2 separate regions of the Homo sapiens genome follow, and region 1 is linked to region 2. The links are contacts of gene promoters, found by promoter capture Hi-C in human tissues and cell types (Jung and others, 2019). All regions are on one chromosome and are shown on one strand. Each heading gives the region's core, a stretch centred on a gene start or on the middle of the fragment in contact. The rest is flanking DNA. Distances are from core to core; before and after follow the strand shown. Region 1 overlaps LOC105370504 (a long non-coding RNA gene). Region 2 holds the start of GNPNAT1 (glucosamine-phosphate N-acetyltransferase 1).

Evidence for each region. The method cuts DNA at HindIII sites, captures the fragments that hold promoters and counts their contacts. A contact is called where the count stands out against the background at its distance.
Region 1: a fragment that was not itself captured here is called in contact with the fragment with the promoter of GNPNAT1 in region 2 in 2 of the 25 tissues and cell types used here (lymphoblastoid cells and mesendoderm cells).

The regions. Positions count from the first base shown.
Region 1 is chr14:53,335,407-53,342,042 of GRCh38, forward strand. LOC105370504 (a long non-coding RNA gene) reads left to right here. Exons shown (of 4, transcript XR_943876.3): 1 at 1-6,636. Among named protein-coding and RNA genes, the nearest start is that of DDHD1-DT, 190 kb to the left of the region's middle. The HindIII fragment of the contact is 6,842 bases long and covers 1,917-6,636 here.
Region 2 is chr14:52,788,124-52,795,414 of GRCh38, forward strand. GNPNAT1 (glucosamine-phosphate N-acetyltransferase 1) reads right to left here and starts at 3,484. Exons shown (of 6, transcript NM_198066.4): 1 at 3,305-3,484. LOC105370500 (a long non-coding RNA gene) reads left to right here and starts at 3,665. Exons shown (of 3, transcript XR_943867.3): 1 at 3,665-4,203. RefSeq lists enhancers at 2,711-2,800, 2,881-2,970, 3,078-3,591, 3,592-4,106 and silencers at 3,281-3,360, 3,461-3,680. The HindIII fragment of the contact is 28,817 bases long and covers 1-7,291 here.

The DNA.
Region 1 (6,636 bases), core at 4,088-6,587, 550 kb after region 2:
CTTTTTCACTTTATTTGTGTTCAATCTTACCCCTGTTCAACCAAAGGCATCCATTACCTTGGGGAAAATTCAGATCGCTGAAGCAGTAATGGAAAGAGGAAAAACAAGTCCGTATTCAACCATTGACTTCCAATATAAGAAGGTTTGCATTCACAGCAGTACCACACATCTTTAAATCTTGGTTTGATCAAGACAGCCAAGTGTTTTTTAAAAATTCCAGATACCCCCTTAAAATATTAAGGGCCCAGCTTGGTGGACTATGTGTCAAAGTGTAGAGGAGACAGTTGATATCATGTAAGAGATGTGTCTACCAAGCAGGAAGAAGTGGAAAGCTTTCTTCTATAGGAGGAAGGAGGAGAAGAAACAGGATCAAGAATGGGGTGAAGATGTTGCCTTATATCTAGGCCTGTGTGTGTAGGGGCCAGGTGGTGTTGGAAAGAAAGCAGATACATCAGATAGTTGAGGGGATAGCTAGAAGCAGAGGCTACCCATCCCCTGATTCCCATTGATAACTATGAGGAGACTGCATTCAGGGTTCTCCTTGCATCTTCATATGGAAGTGCAGTAGGGTGGTAACGGCAGCGTGAAATGCTCAGGCAGAAAGAGGCCTGAGATGGAGCCCCTTGTTCTCTAATGCTTATGCATGTCACCTAAGGAATGCAGATGCTCTCACTGTGTCCTGGCCTCCTCCATGATGCATGTGGGAAGTGGCTGAAAGTGCTTGCTGGTAACCTTGCCAACCAGATGACTGACACAAAGAAAGAAGGGACTTCATAAGTGGTCTTCCCAGGGTGGGGACTGAGTGGGAGTGGCAGCCATAACTCAGAGGGGCCATGGCACCAGGGAGAGCTGAGAGGGGGCCTATGAGCCCCCTAGAAGCAATTGCCATTCATTGCCCACCCATGCTGAGAGTACAGGCCTCCTATCATGGCAGCTGAGGTGACCTGCACAGTGACAAGAGTGTCGACAGAGACCAAGGCCCAGAAATATTCTGGCTAAGAAACCTTGAGCAGAGAACAACCTGTATATCGGGGTTCTTTTATCCATTATGTGAGGATATTTAAGCTTAGCTCTGCACCAAGATATCATCTTCATGTGGTTGGGACAAGGAGAGGGCAGTCCTCCTAAGGCATGAAGAATCCACTCTGTTAGGAGTTTAGGCTTTGAAAAGCTATTGAACCATGAGATTCAGTTGACCAGAGATTCTTTTAAGTGAGAGATTAAGTTATCATTAATGGGTGATTTGAAAATCTTTCTTTGCCATCTCCTTTCCTCCACCACCACCACTACTCCATCTCCCTTCCCAAGGAATCAGGGAATGAAATTGCAGAAAACAGCTTGAGACTGATAACAGAAAATAAAAGTACATTTTAATCATAGTGTATACATTTGGACCCCAACACATTGCTAAACAGCCCCATATTCTAGGCCCTGCCTTGGGTTCGTGAGTGCCATATGGACGCCATGTTGTTCTGTGGAGGCACCAGTTAGAATTCTTTTGGCCAGGTTTTAGTCGATTCAGCAAATTGCTTAGGAGAGAATGATCCATTGTCAAAGAGATCATTCTTTCAGGGAATGCATGTCTGGCAAACATAGCCCTCAATTTGCAGATTGTTGTGGTACCTGTGGTAATGAGGATTCTGTATCTTTTTCCAATTTAAGAAAATTTCTTGCAGTTCTCTGTGACAATGATGTGTAGTTCTTGACATCCAAATGAGCTGATATAATTCTAACAGTATGCGGCGTATTCCTATGGTGCTGGTGGGTGTTTTGTTTTATATTGCCTTACAGTTTTCGAGGTGAATTTGACATCTTAAGATGACTAAAATATCAGTTTTACATACCAGGGAACTTTTCCTAATATGGATGACTATCTTGGTTACATTTCTGCTTGTTCTTACAATGGCAGTTTCCATGTGCAACATCTGAAACCGTCTGTCCAGGGACTGGGACTTCCTTGGATCCTGTAGCTTCTGTTCGTGTCCTGTGGTGATTTCTAAAGAATGCTATCCTTACCATGAGTGTCTAGACAAACTCTATGGACATTTCCTTATTATTTTCAAGGTCACAGAGAGAAGGAATTTTGTCACAAATGACCCAGAAAGTCCCTAGCACATTGGGAATGCCTAACTATAGTAAAAAGCAATGAGAGAGGTGAATAGGCCCTGAAATGAAGAAAACTCAGTTCTCCTGCCCCATCAAATCAGCAGTCCAAATCTAAATGGAAGATGTAAAACAAATTGAAGGGAAAAATTGTTCTGGATTGACATCTTAGGGATTTGTTCTTGAATTAACCAATAAAATAATATAGGTTTAATCTCTTAAGAAAGTAGGCACTGTTGTTGGGAGAGGTCTTAGTAGATGAATCACCTGAAACTTAAATTCCACTTCTGAGAATAAATAAAAGTGGTAAATAAGTTAACTTCCTGTTATGTTTGTTTCTTGGCAACTCTGAGCCCCCTTACCAATCTAGTTTCACTGAATATGAGCTATTATCCCCCTTTGATATTTTCCTTAAAGGTTTTAATTTTAATGGTTGAATCATCTTGAATGAAAGAAATAGTGGATAAAGAAATACGGTAAAGGCTTTAAGAGGGAGGGGACAAAATGTAGTTTTCCTGGATGTTGTTGTTCAGAGTGTTTGTGAAGAAATGATAAACACCATGGCAACAAGAAAAATAATGATTTGTACCCCAAAGGCTGTTCCATGTAGTCATGTACTAAGACATAAAAGGAAAAAAAATCAACCAAATTTTCCCTTGGAAAAGCTTATGAGGCAGAGGGAATAAGTTAAGAATTTATTATATAGCCCACTAGAAAAATACAGAATATATGAACATTTCTAAATTTTACTATCTGCCAGCAAAACCCATAGCACTGTTGTACAGAGGGAAGAGTAGAGCGTAGGGCTTCTGTGTGTCTCTGACCATGTCAGTGAAGAAGGGATGGGGTGTGCGATCTAGATCACAGCTGGGAGGGTCATGCCAAGTCGGGAAGAGTGAGTCACTCCACAGGAGGGTTAGGCATTTGAAACAATGTGGTCTCAGAGGGTTATGGTTCCATCGGCTCCTACTCTTCACTCTCCTATAGCCTCTTTCACTTCATATTTTCACCTGGGACTACAGGACATATAATAACTACTTGATATTGAGCGTTTATTACCCACCTGACACCATTCCCAGTGTTTTATGTGTTTTTCTTAAATAAGACATGAAGTTATTAGGATGTAGACATGTTGAATAGTAATTAATGACAAACTTTGAATTTACACAGGGTCTTTTCTCCATGGATTAGCACAGGAAGACAGTGAAATGAGCAGTGAGATTCAACTTGAGATCTCAAATTGTTCGGGTTCAAGGTTATCTTATTTGGGAGAGTTGAACTCTAGGACTACTACTTATTTGTTTAGAAAAGCTATCTGACAGACGGCAAATAAATGAAACATCTGAATACATGACCGTAACTTCTATTCAGAGGGTGAGGCAGGGATGGGTAGCTGTCCACAGGTGCTAGGAGTGGCTTCTCAGCCTGGGGCCAGCTACATTTCCTAGACCCCTCTTGCACTGGAGTGGGGCCATATGTCCAATGAGTGGAACATGAATGGAAGTAACATGTCACTTTTGAGTTAATGTGGTAAAAAGCCTTTGTGCCTACTCCCTCCTACTTCACACACAGTCATGCACACTGAATAGGAACATCTGTTTTGTTTCATACATAAAATAAGCTCACATAGGTTGGGCACGGTGGCTCATGCCTGTAATCCCAGCACTTTGGGAGGCTGAGGTGGGCAGATCACCTGAGGTCAGGAGTTTGAAACCAGCCTGGCCAACATGGTGAAACCCCGTCTCTGCTAAAAATACAAAAATTAGCCAAGTGTGGTGGTACATGCCTGTAATCGCAGGTACTTGGGAGGCTGAGGCATAAGAATTGCTTGAACCAGGGAGGTGGAGATTGCAGTGAGTCAAGATAATGCCACTGCATTCTAGCCTGGGTGACAGAGTGAGACTATGTCTCAAAAAAAAAAAAAAAAAAAAAGAAGTTCACATAAAGAAAACATACGAAGTCACTGAGATTTCTGGGTTTACCTCTTACAGCAGCTAGAACTACCCTCACTAATAAGGAAAATTACCTTGAGCCATTAAAATTATAAAGGTTTATTTTGGTTTCCTTTCCAACAGAAAATTTGGTTGTGAAAGACACAAGTTAGAAAGAGCTCTTTTTCAGATGGATATAAGGCACATTTTAGAAATTTCAGCAAAAGTAAACTAATTTTTTTTCTTGGAAAACTAGCATTTAAATATTTAATTATTTCAAAGAAAAGCAAGGTGATATCGAGTGGTAGCATTTGAGAGGGAAAACTAACAGGCAGAATATAACTTTGATTTCCATAGACCTTTATAATTCAATGGAAGTTGCCTGTGTGCCATGTTCTGGGCTCTGAGTTAAGAGCTTTACATGTACATCTTCTTTAATTATGACAACCCCCCAGATTGGCACTATAATTATCCCTAGTTTAAAATGAGAAAATCGAGACTCAGGGATGTTAAATAACAAGTTTAGTGTCACACTCTAGGAAGGGATAAAGTCAGGAACCAAGCATGAGGCTGACTGCTGAGCCTGAGCTCGCCACTACTGCGCCATGTGGCTTTTCATTTTGCACACGGCATCGTCGCCACTTATGGATGAAAGTGCTAAGGCCCAGTGAAGGGAAATGCGTAGCTCAGGTCCAAACTGCCAGCATTTGTCAAAGTTGGATTTTCTGACTCTGACTTCAGTACTCTCTCAACTTGGAATACCATAAATTAAAGCAAATACTAACTTGGTTATGGGGCAGTCAATATTTTTAGAGTGTTTATAGAAAGGAAGTAATTTTGGCCTGGCAAAAGAGCAAACTGAAGGTAGTTTTACATTTCTATTTCAAAAAGAATCATTCAAATTGGGAAAATTCGCATGCGCTGGATCACCCTGTGGGATATTCAGGGAGAGCAGACCCCTTCGGCTTCCTCTCCAGCCGTTTTAAAAGCAAATTTTGTAGATTATCTCACCTGGCTTGTTGCCCTCGGAGTCTGATGCACAAAATTGCTTGGTGTTTGGCAAGATTTGATTGGCAAGAAAGTGTTCCTGTGGTTAGTTTTTGTGTCTGACCCTTGCTGGGAGGTTAAGGCTAGTTTTTATGCTTGTGCCCTCACAAAGGTGAACTACCCTGTTCACCTCCATTCTCCTCAGTAGGAGAGAAGTGTGGCCAGGAGGAGGGGCACCAAGGGGGGTGGACCTCACGGTGACAAGAGGGCTCTGGAGCCACATTTCCTGGGTTTGGGCTCCATGGCCATCATCCTCTGGGAAGTGACCTTGGACTCTGTGCCTCAGTTTCCTCATCTGTAAAACGGGGGTGGGGGTGAGACTTTTGGTTTATGTGATTGAAAAGATAACACATGTCAAGGTCATAGCCTTAGAGGAGATACACACTAAGTGCTCAGTCGAATTTAGCTATAGTATAAATGGCATATTAAAGAAAATGTCTGAAGGAGGGTGTGTATAATTAACAAAGAGCAACATAGCCTTCTTGCTTGTGAATTGTCTAGTCGTATTTTCACCAGTGTCTGCTGATACCGAATTTGGCCTAGACACAGTGGTTTGAAGGAACCAGTTGGCGACAGGGTTTGGAAGGAATAGGTCCATGTCTAAGATGTAGCATCTGGCCTCCAAGTTCCTGAGAAGCAGCAGGATCCTTGGATGGGACAGATCATTAAACATGTAGCCTTGACCACCCCTTCCTCATTCTTGGAAAAAAGCCAACAAGGTGACTCTTGGGGAATGTTTCACTCTAACCAGTTTTCTTCTTTTTTTCTCCCCTCTCTCATGTATTTTTGCTCTGAATTAAAAAAAAAAAAGTCCTGCTGTGGTCATTTTGATCTCATCATGGTTTTTAATGTCAGGCTGGTCCATTCAATATCTAGTTAGCGATAGGAGACCAGCTGCTTCTCAGGCAAAGGAAGGAAAGCACGAACCTCCATGTTCTCATCCCCCTCCTCCCAATTATGTGGTCTCTTATCCCAAGATTGCCTGGAGGAATGTGGCTTCAGGCCCTGAGAGCCTCCAGGAAACAGGATTGCTCAGGGGGCCTGAGAAACTGAAGGCAGGCACCGAGTAGGTCCAAAGAGGCCGGAAGGGCTGGTTGTGAAGCAAGGTGGAGGGAGTGGAGGGAAGTGAATGATGGGGCTGCAGAGCTTTGTCTGAGATGTGGGTGAAAGGTTAGGCTACCTATGGGCCTAGAAGAGCACTACTTTCAGAAAAGGACTGGCAAGAAGAATGTAATGAAGCGTCAGCACTGGAGCTTTCTAATCCACAGGAATGCAGCTGAATGCTAACAGGTCTTCTCTTATTCCCCATTCTCTTTTCGTGCATCTATTCTGGAAACCCAGGTCCTTGTGCTGTCTTTGAATTTCCTCTTGGCTGATGAGTTTTTAATCGTAGTTCAGAGTCTCTGGGACTTTTCCTCAGGCTCCTTCTTAAGCTTATAGGATTATCTGGCCAGATCAGTTATTCTTTCTTTTGAACTGTGTAAATTATAAATAACTTTCCTGAGAAAAGAGCACCGGATGGGGAGGCAGAAGCTCCAGCGTTGTCCTTAATTGT
Region 2 (7,291 bases), core at 2,234-4,733:
TTGTTTTATTGTTTTGAGACAGGGTTTTACTCTGTTGCCCAGGCTGGAGTGCAGTGGTGCAATCATAGCTCACTGCAGCCTCAAACTCCTGGGCTCAAGTGATCCTCCTACCTCAGCTTCCCACATCAGCCTCCAGAGTAGTTGTGACTACAGGCTCATACCACCACGCCTGGCTAATTTTTGTATTTTTAGTAGAGATGGGGCTTTGCCATGTTGGAAAGGCTGGTCTTGAACTCCTGACCTCAAGTGATCCTCCAGCCTCAGCCTCCCAAAGTTCTGGAATTACAAGTGTGAACCAGCATGCTCAGCCAAAACAAGTTTTTAATAGATGAAATTGAGTCCACGTGTTTTAGTGTTTTGTCTAAATTGGACCCTTGAGGTTTTTGTGTGTAATCTCATCTGAATGGTAGGTAGCAACATTGTTTTTCAGGTATGTAGATAAACAGGCTAAGTATTAATAAAGTGAAATGTGTACAGTATTAAAAATGTAAATTCCTCGAGGCAGCACACTATTTAAACATTTTGGTCTTGCTATTAAACATATAGTTGTAAATACAAAGTTCAAAGAAAACTCAAAAGAGAATTTAAATCAACCTTAACCACATTTAACTAGATTCCTTTTTCCTATAAAGTTGTCTGTGTTTACAATAAAAATGTGGTCTAGAAAACATGAAAAATAGGGTTAATAATTTTCATGAGAGGGAAGAAGTATACAGGAAAACAACTAGGATTATGAAGCCCTTAAATAATGAATTTTAACCAGGAAATACTAATATTTTCTTGTACTTTTCTTTGATGAGACAGTCCTTTTCCACGAATGATCATAAAAATAAATAATATTGGCTAACACTTATTGAAAACTTTCTATATGTTAACTCTTAAAAATACAATGAACGATGTATCATTATTATCCCAATTTTACAGATAAGGAAGCAGGCACAGTAACTTGCTCAAGGTTAGAGTGCCAATAAGAACAGAGTGAGGATTCAAAATGAGGCAACAGGGCCAGCTTCAGAAGCCCCTGACCTGTGCCGTTACACAGGGCCCTGCACTTAAGTTTGATACCCTGCTGCCACTGTTTTGAAGTTCTTAATTTTTTAACAAGGAACCCTGCATTTTAATTTGGATTACCACAGATTACGTAGCCAGTCCTGCTAGGTAGTATGACTTCAGACTCTGCTCTTAACCATTACACTGAAGATGCACTAGAGTAGATAAATTCCCTATCTTACTGTTGTACAAGGGTTAAAAATTAAGTCATAAGCAGCACTTAGAACCTACATTTGGAAAATGGGAATCAGACTAGTCAAAATACATTAAACAAAGCATTACAGATTGAAATAAGAATCTATTAACCAGGCAATCAGAAATTAACATCAAAAATTTTTTTATGAGCTATTCTACAAAACAGAGCCATACTGAAGGCCCACTTTAGCTCACTCTGTCCTCAAACCGTAAAATTCTGCTGGTGCCCAACTAAGGTACTGGGCAAAGTGAAGCAAGATATGACTTGAAACCTGGTTCCAAGGGGGTTTAGAACATAATTAAATAAGTAATTTTATATAAATAATCTTTTAGCATCTTCAGGTGCCCAGATATTGCAAAACTAGGAAATTTCTGCGAATAAAATTGCACAGTTGTGTGAAGCGGAATCTCATCATATCATTAGGTTCTTTAAAGTTTTTAGATGAACTTTAAACACTAATCCTCCTTAAGTATTCCTCAGAACCTTTTCTGATTAACTGCTAAATTAGCAGGCGTTTAGAAGACCCGTTTAAGCCTAACCCTAGCCCAATAATGCCTAGTGAATGAATAACGAATAAGACTTACCTGTAGGTCACATTTCAGAAAATCCAGAAGGACAAAAAAAAAAAAAAAAAAAAAAATTCCCAAACTGCCACAATATCGCGGAAAGCATACACCAAATTCATTTTTACTAGTCATCACATCAGTTGAATATTTTTTCACTCAATTGAATATTTTTTAAACAAAACTTCAACTATTTGGCGTCTGAGCCTCTGTATCAGGTTGGAATACGAATGGGGAGAGAGGCTGCTGCTAGAAGCAACCAACGGAGAGCAACAAGTAATAGACACCGGAGATGAAGATTTTAAAAGTCGATCTACAAATTTTAAAAAATACAATCTAAGGCCAAATCTAAACCAGCCTATGTATTTCTCAAGAGCTCCTGGGGAACCTTCTAAGTACAGGTGAATGGGGGAGGGGCGGACTTCGGATTCCTTTATATTCATTTTATAACAATTTCGATAACAAGAATCCATTCTGAATCTATTCCGTTAAAGATTTTTAACACACCTGGCCATATTTATTAAATTGTGTAACTGCATGAATGTTCAAAAGTATTTTCTGATAGTTTGACCTTTACAATCTAGGCGTTATTCCCAGTCTACCGATGAGGAAGCTGGAGCACCTGGAACTCCCAAGACTTGCCCCTTAGGTAACACAGCAAGTAAGTGACTTGGGGCTAGAATCCTCGTTTTCGCATCTTGAGCTCGATTACCATCCTCAACAGACCCCAATCTTTACATCATCATACCATACAGCTAGCGCTCTCTCCCCTATTTAGCAAATCCTGCCTAAATTAATTTCTTAAGATCCATTCTAGGATTCGTTCATGAGGGATTATCCTAACAAAACGAATCCTATAATCGCCCGTTCAATTTTGTATGAAAATTTTAAATTAGTTTGGCTTACATAAACATCAGCTCCCGCAACAGAAATCACAGTACAGTACTCGGTATTTCTAGGGGTAGGAGCCTAGGAAAAAGAGACAAAGAATGTCCCTCTGTACCCTGGGGAAAGCGCCGACCTACTCGGTGCGGAGGTGGTCTTCGGAGCAGCTGCCTCAATGGCTCCGACCACCGTGGGATGCGCCCGGGAATGGGAGAAGAGAAGGGGCCTGGGACGTTCGTGCCCATTCAAAACCGATGGCTGCAGAGAGCGCGACCAACTGTCTCATTTCCCACGCCAAAGTCTGGGGAGCGAAGTTCCGACCCCAGTCCCAGTTCCAGCCCTGCCAGGCCAAGACCAGCGTATGGCCGGACCGCTGGCCATCATCCTTAACCTCTGCTCCAGGCGCGCGTGCGTTCAACTTCCTGGGAACCGCGCTCCACACCATGTGCACCCAGCTGGCGAGGATTAACGCCCAGCTCCTCCACACAACACCCCCGGGGGCCTGGCCGGGGCACCAGACACACCTGTTAGATAAACCTGAGGGCAGGCCCGCCCCAGCCCCCAGGACACACGGTCCTGCTCTCGCGCCCCGGCCCCGGTCCCTCCTCACCCGTAGAGGCCCTGCGGTCGGCGCTCCTAGCCAGGCGCGTCGGACTCTCCCCCACCAGTGTGCACAGCACCGGATCCGGATCCGGCTTCAGCGCCAGCCCCACCTCCTCCTCCACCGCCCGCGCCACAGTTGGGAACCGCGGCCCAGACGTGGCAGCGCCAACGCCTCCACCTCGCCTCTGCCCCCTCACGCAGGGCCGCGCGCAGGCGAGCGGAGGCGGAGGCCAAGGCGCCACCCGCCCAGGCCCGGAGAGCGAGGGGCGGGGCCCGGAGAGCGGGGGCGGGACCAGGAGGGCGAGGGGCGGGGCTCGGAGAGCGGGGGCGGGACCAGGAGGGCGAGGGGCGGGGCCTGAGGCTCGAGTCGCGGCGCCTGGGGCGGTGGCCGCCGGACCAAAGCTGGCCTCTCCCGGCTCCTCCTCCTCGCTCCCCAAGGCCTTTCCCACCGCGTCATTGTCTCGGTTTATCTGCAGATACGTCTACCTAGCAGTCAGCCCAGCAGCGTAAGTGGTGACCAGTGTGGGCCTCTTTGATCCTGAGACCGAAGGCTCGGCCACTGGCCCTCTCCATTTGTTCCTTGTTGCCCTCCCTTCATGATTCAATCCATTAATTAGGACTTTTCCTACCAGCTGGCAGTTCAGAGCTCCGCATCCCCAGGCCTCTGAGTCACAGTTCCTGCCTTCATGAAACTAGGAGTTGGGGCCACTGCATTCTACTCCTTCGGGACTATTGTTTCATTTCTCAGTCCCTCAAACCCTTTATTGGATGAACATGGGGTTAGGACAGCGGTTCTCCACTGCAACAGTTTTGCCTCCCAGGAGACATTTGGCAATGTATGAATCATTTTCAGCCTCTCATCTGGGGTGAGATGTCATTGGAATCTACAGATGGTGGAGGGCACAGGTGAGTAGAGGCCGGGAATACTGCTTCACGCCTTACAGTGCGCAGGACAGCGCCGCACAACAAAGAATTACCTGGCCTGAAATGTCTGGAGTGCTGAGGTTTAGAAACCTTTCGTTAGGAGAAGAAAAGTGACTTTTTTCAGAGCCCCATTTCTGAAGTGTCTTACCTAAGTAGCACTTTGTCCCTATTTTAACAGATGAGGAAACAGAGGTTCAGAGATGTTACATAATTTACAAAAGTCTCATAGCTAGTAGCTCCCCTTCCTTGCCTTGTACCATAATTTTCAATTTATTGAAATCGCAAAGTATTTTATTCTTAAGCAATAGTATTCAAAGAACCCCATAGATCATATACCAGAAATCATATTTTTTGCTCATTTGTGAGATTTAAATTTCAGTTAACTCCTTTACTGATTTATGCTTTCTCAGAACTTCAAACATCAGTGAGTTGATGGCATCCATATCTCTGTTTTTATCTCTGTTTTTACACCCATACATACAAAAGAATATATAGGGCATGAGCAGAATGTGGTGGTATGCATCCGTAGTCCCAGCTACTCCAGAGGCTGAGGCAGGAGGATCACTTGAGCCCACAAGGTTGAATCCAGCCTGGACAATAGAGCAAGACCCTGTCTCTAAAAAAAAAAAAAAAAAAAAAAAGAATATGTAAGGCATAAATAAAATAAACACTCATGGCTGGGCGTAGTGGCTCACACCTGTAATTCCAACATTTTGGGAGGCCTAAGCAAGTGGATCTCTTGAGCCCAGGAGTTTGAGACCAGTCTGTGCAACATGGTAAAAACCTGTCTCTACAAAAAAAAATACTGAAAATTAGGCAGGCATGGTGGCATGTGCCTGTAGTCCCATCTACTCAGGAGGCTGAGGTAGGAGGATAACCTGAGCCCGGGAGGCAGAGGCTGCTGTGAGCCATGATTGCAAGACTGCACTCCAGTCTGGGCCACAGAGCAAGACCCTGTCTCAAAACAAACAAAAATTTAAAAAAATGCTTATGTACACACCACTAATCTTAAGCATATGGCCCTCCCCGTTTTTCTTATCAGACTTCTGGTCAAATGTTTTCAGTGAGTTTATCCTGTACAACAAACTGCTGTATGTTTTATAAATTAGCAAAAAGTGAAACATAAGCAATTCTAAAATCACAGAACACAAGGCTTGTAAGAGGTACCCCCAGAGATCTCATACTTTCCACATATACTCCTCCTTACCCACATTGGGCCATAAGAACCCAATTTCTCCTTAATAGACAAGGTCGATTACTCTGGCCAGTACAGTTAACCCCTTTCTTTGCCTGTAGGTTCACTTGGCAATGAGGAGCCCAAGATAACCAGGAGACAGTCTCAACTTCTGGTTTAATGGAACCATTGGTATGTCCTTTGGTTGATTTTTATTTATTTTTCTAGATTCTTAGAAGAAATGCTGCATTCACCATTATTCTTTTTTTTTTTTTTTTTTTTTTTTTTTTTTTGAGAGGGAGTCTTACTCTGTAGCCCAGGCTGGAGTGCAGTGGTGTGATCTCAGCTCACTGCAACCTCCACCTCCTGGGTTCCAATTAAGCAATTCTCCTGCCTCAGCCTCTTGAGTAGCTGGAATTACAGGTGCGCACTACCACACCCAGCTAATTTTTGTATTTTTAGTAGAGATGGGGTTTCACCATGTTGGCCAGGCTGGTCTTGAACTCCTGACCTTGTGATCCACCCACCTGGGCCTCCCAAAGTGCTAAGATTACAGGTGTGAGCCACCGCGTCTGACCAACAACAATATTCTCATTGGCACAAATAAGGCTATTACGTGGATAAACATAGATGTCAGTGATTGAGTTGAGAAGTGATTCAGGAACGTTGGCCTGAATGAGAAGTTTAAGAATACCTTGGCCGGGTACCATGGTTAACACCTGTAATCCCAGCACTTTGGGAGGCCAAGGCGGGCAGATCACGAGGTCAGGAGTTCAAGACCAGCCTGGCCAACATAGTGAAACTCTGTCTCTCAGAAAAAATACAAAAATTAGCTGGTGTGCTGGCACATGCCTGTAGTCCCAGCTACTCGGGAGGCTGAGACAGGAGAATCACTTGAAACCTGGGAGGCAGAGATTGCAGTGAGCCGAGATTGTGCCATTGCACTCCAGCCTGGGCAACAGCGAGACTCCATCCCCCCCCAAAAAAGAATACCTTAGCCAATTTATTTCATTTATATTTTCCTCTTAATGTTTGCACAGGAATTAGATATAACAATCCATGTCTAATTAAGTATAGAAGAGTTGTTTCACTAGGTATTACAAGTTCCAAGTGATAAGATATTATAATTTTAAATTAGCCACATTGTTTCTTTCTTAGTGGTATATAAATTAATGGCGTGTCATACAATGGATGTGTCTAAGATTGGATGAAATATGGTACAGGCCAGGCACGGTGGCTCACGCCTGTACCATTCCAGCACTTTGGGAGGCTGAGGTGGGTGGATCATGAGGTCAAGAGATCGAGACCATCCTGGCCAACATGGTAAAATCCTGTCTCTACTAAAAATGCAAAAATTAGCTGGGCGTAGTGGCACACGCCTGTAGTCCCAGCTACTCAGGAGGCTGAGGCAGGAGAATTACTGGAACCCAGGAGGTGGAGGTTTAAGTGAGCCGAGATTGCACCACTGCACTCCAGCCTGGCAACAGAGCGAGACTCTGTCTCAAAAAAAAAAAAAAGGTAATATGGTACATACTTAATATGGTCTTAAAGTTATAATTCTCTGTTATGGTTTTAATGTCCCCTCCAAAACTCACATTGAGATTTAATTGCCATGGTACAGTATTAAGAGGGTGAGGCCCTTAAGGGGTGATTAGGTCATGAGAGCTCTTCCCTCACATAATATGGATTAATGCTGTTACCGTGGGAGTGGTTTCCTGATAAAATGGATGAGTTCAGCTCCTCCCTGTCTTTCTTTCTCTTACACTACTCCTTCCATGTGATGCCTTCAGCCATGGGGTGACCCTCAACAGATACTGGTACTATGCTCTTGCACTTCCCAGCCTCCAGAACTGTGAGCCAAATATGCTTCTTTTTATTATGAATTACCCAGTCTTG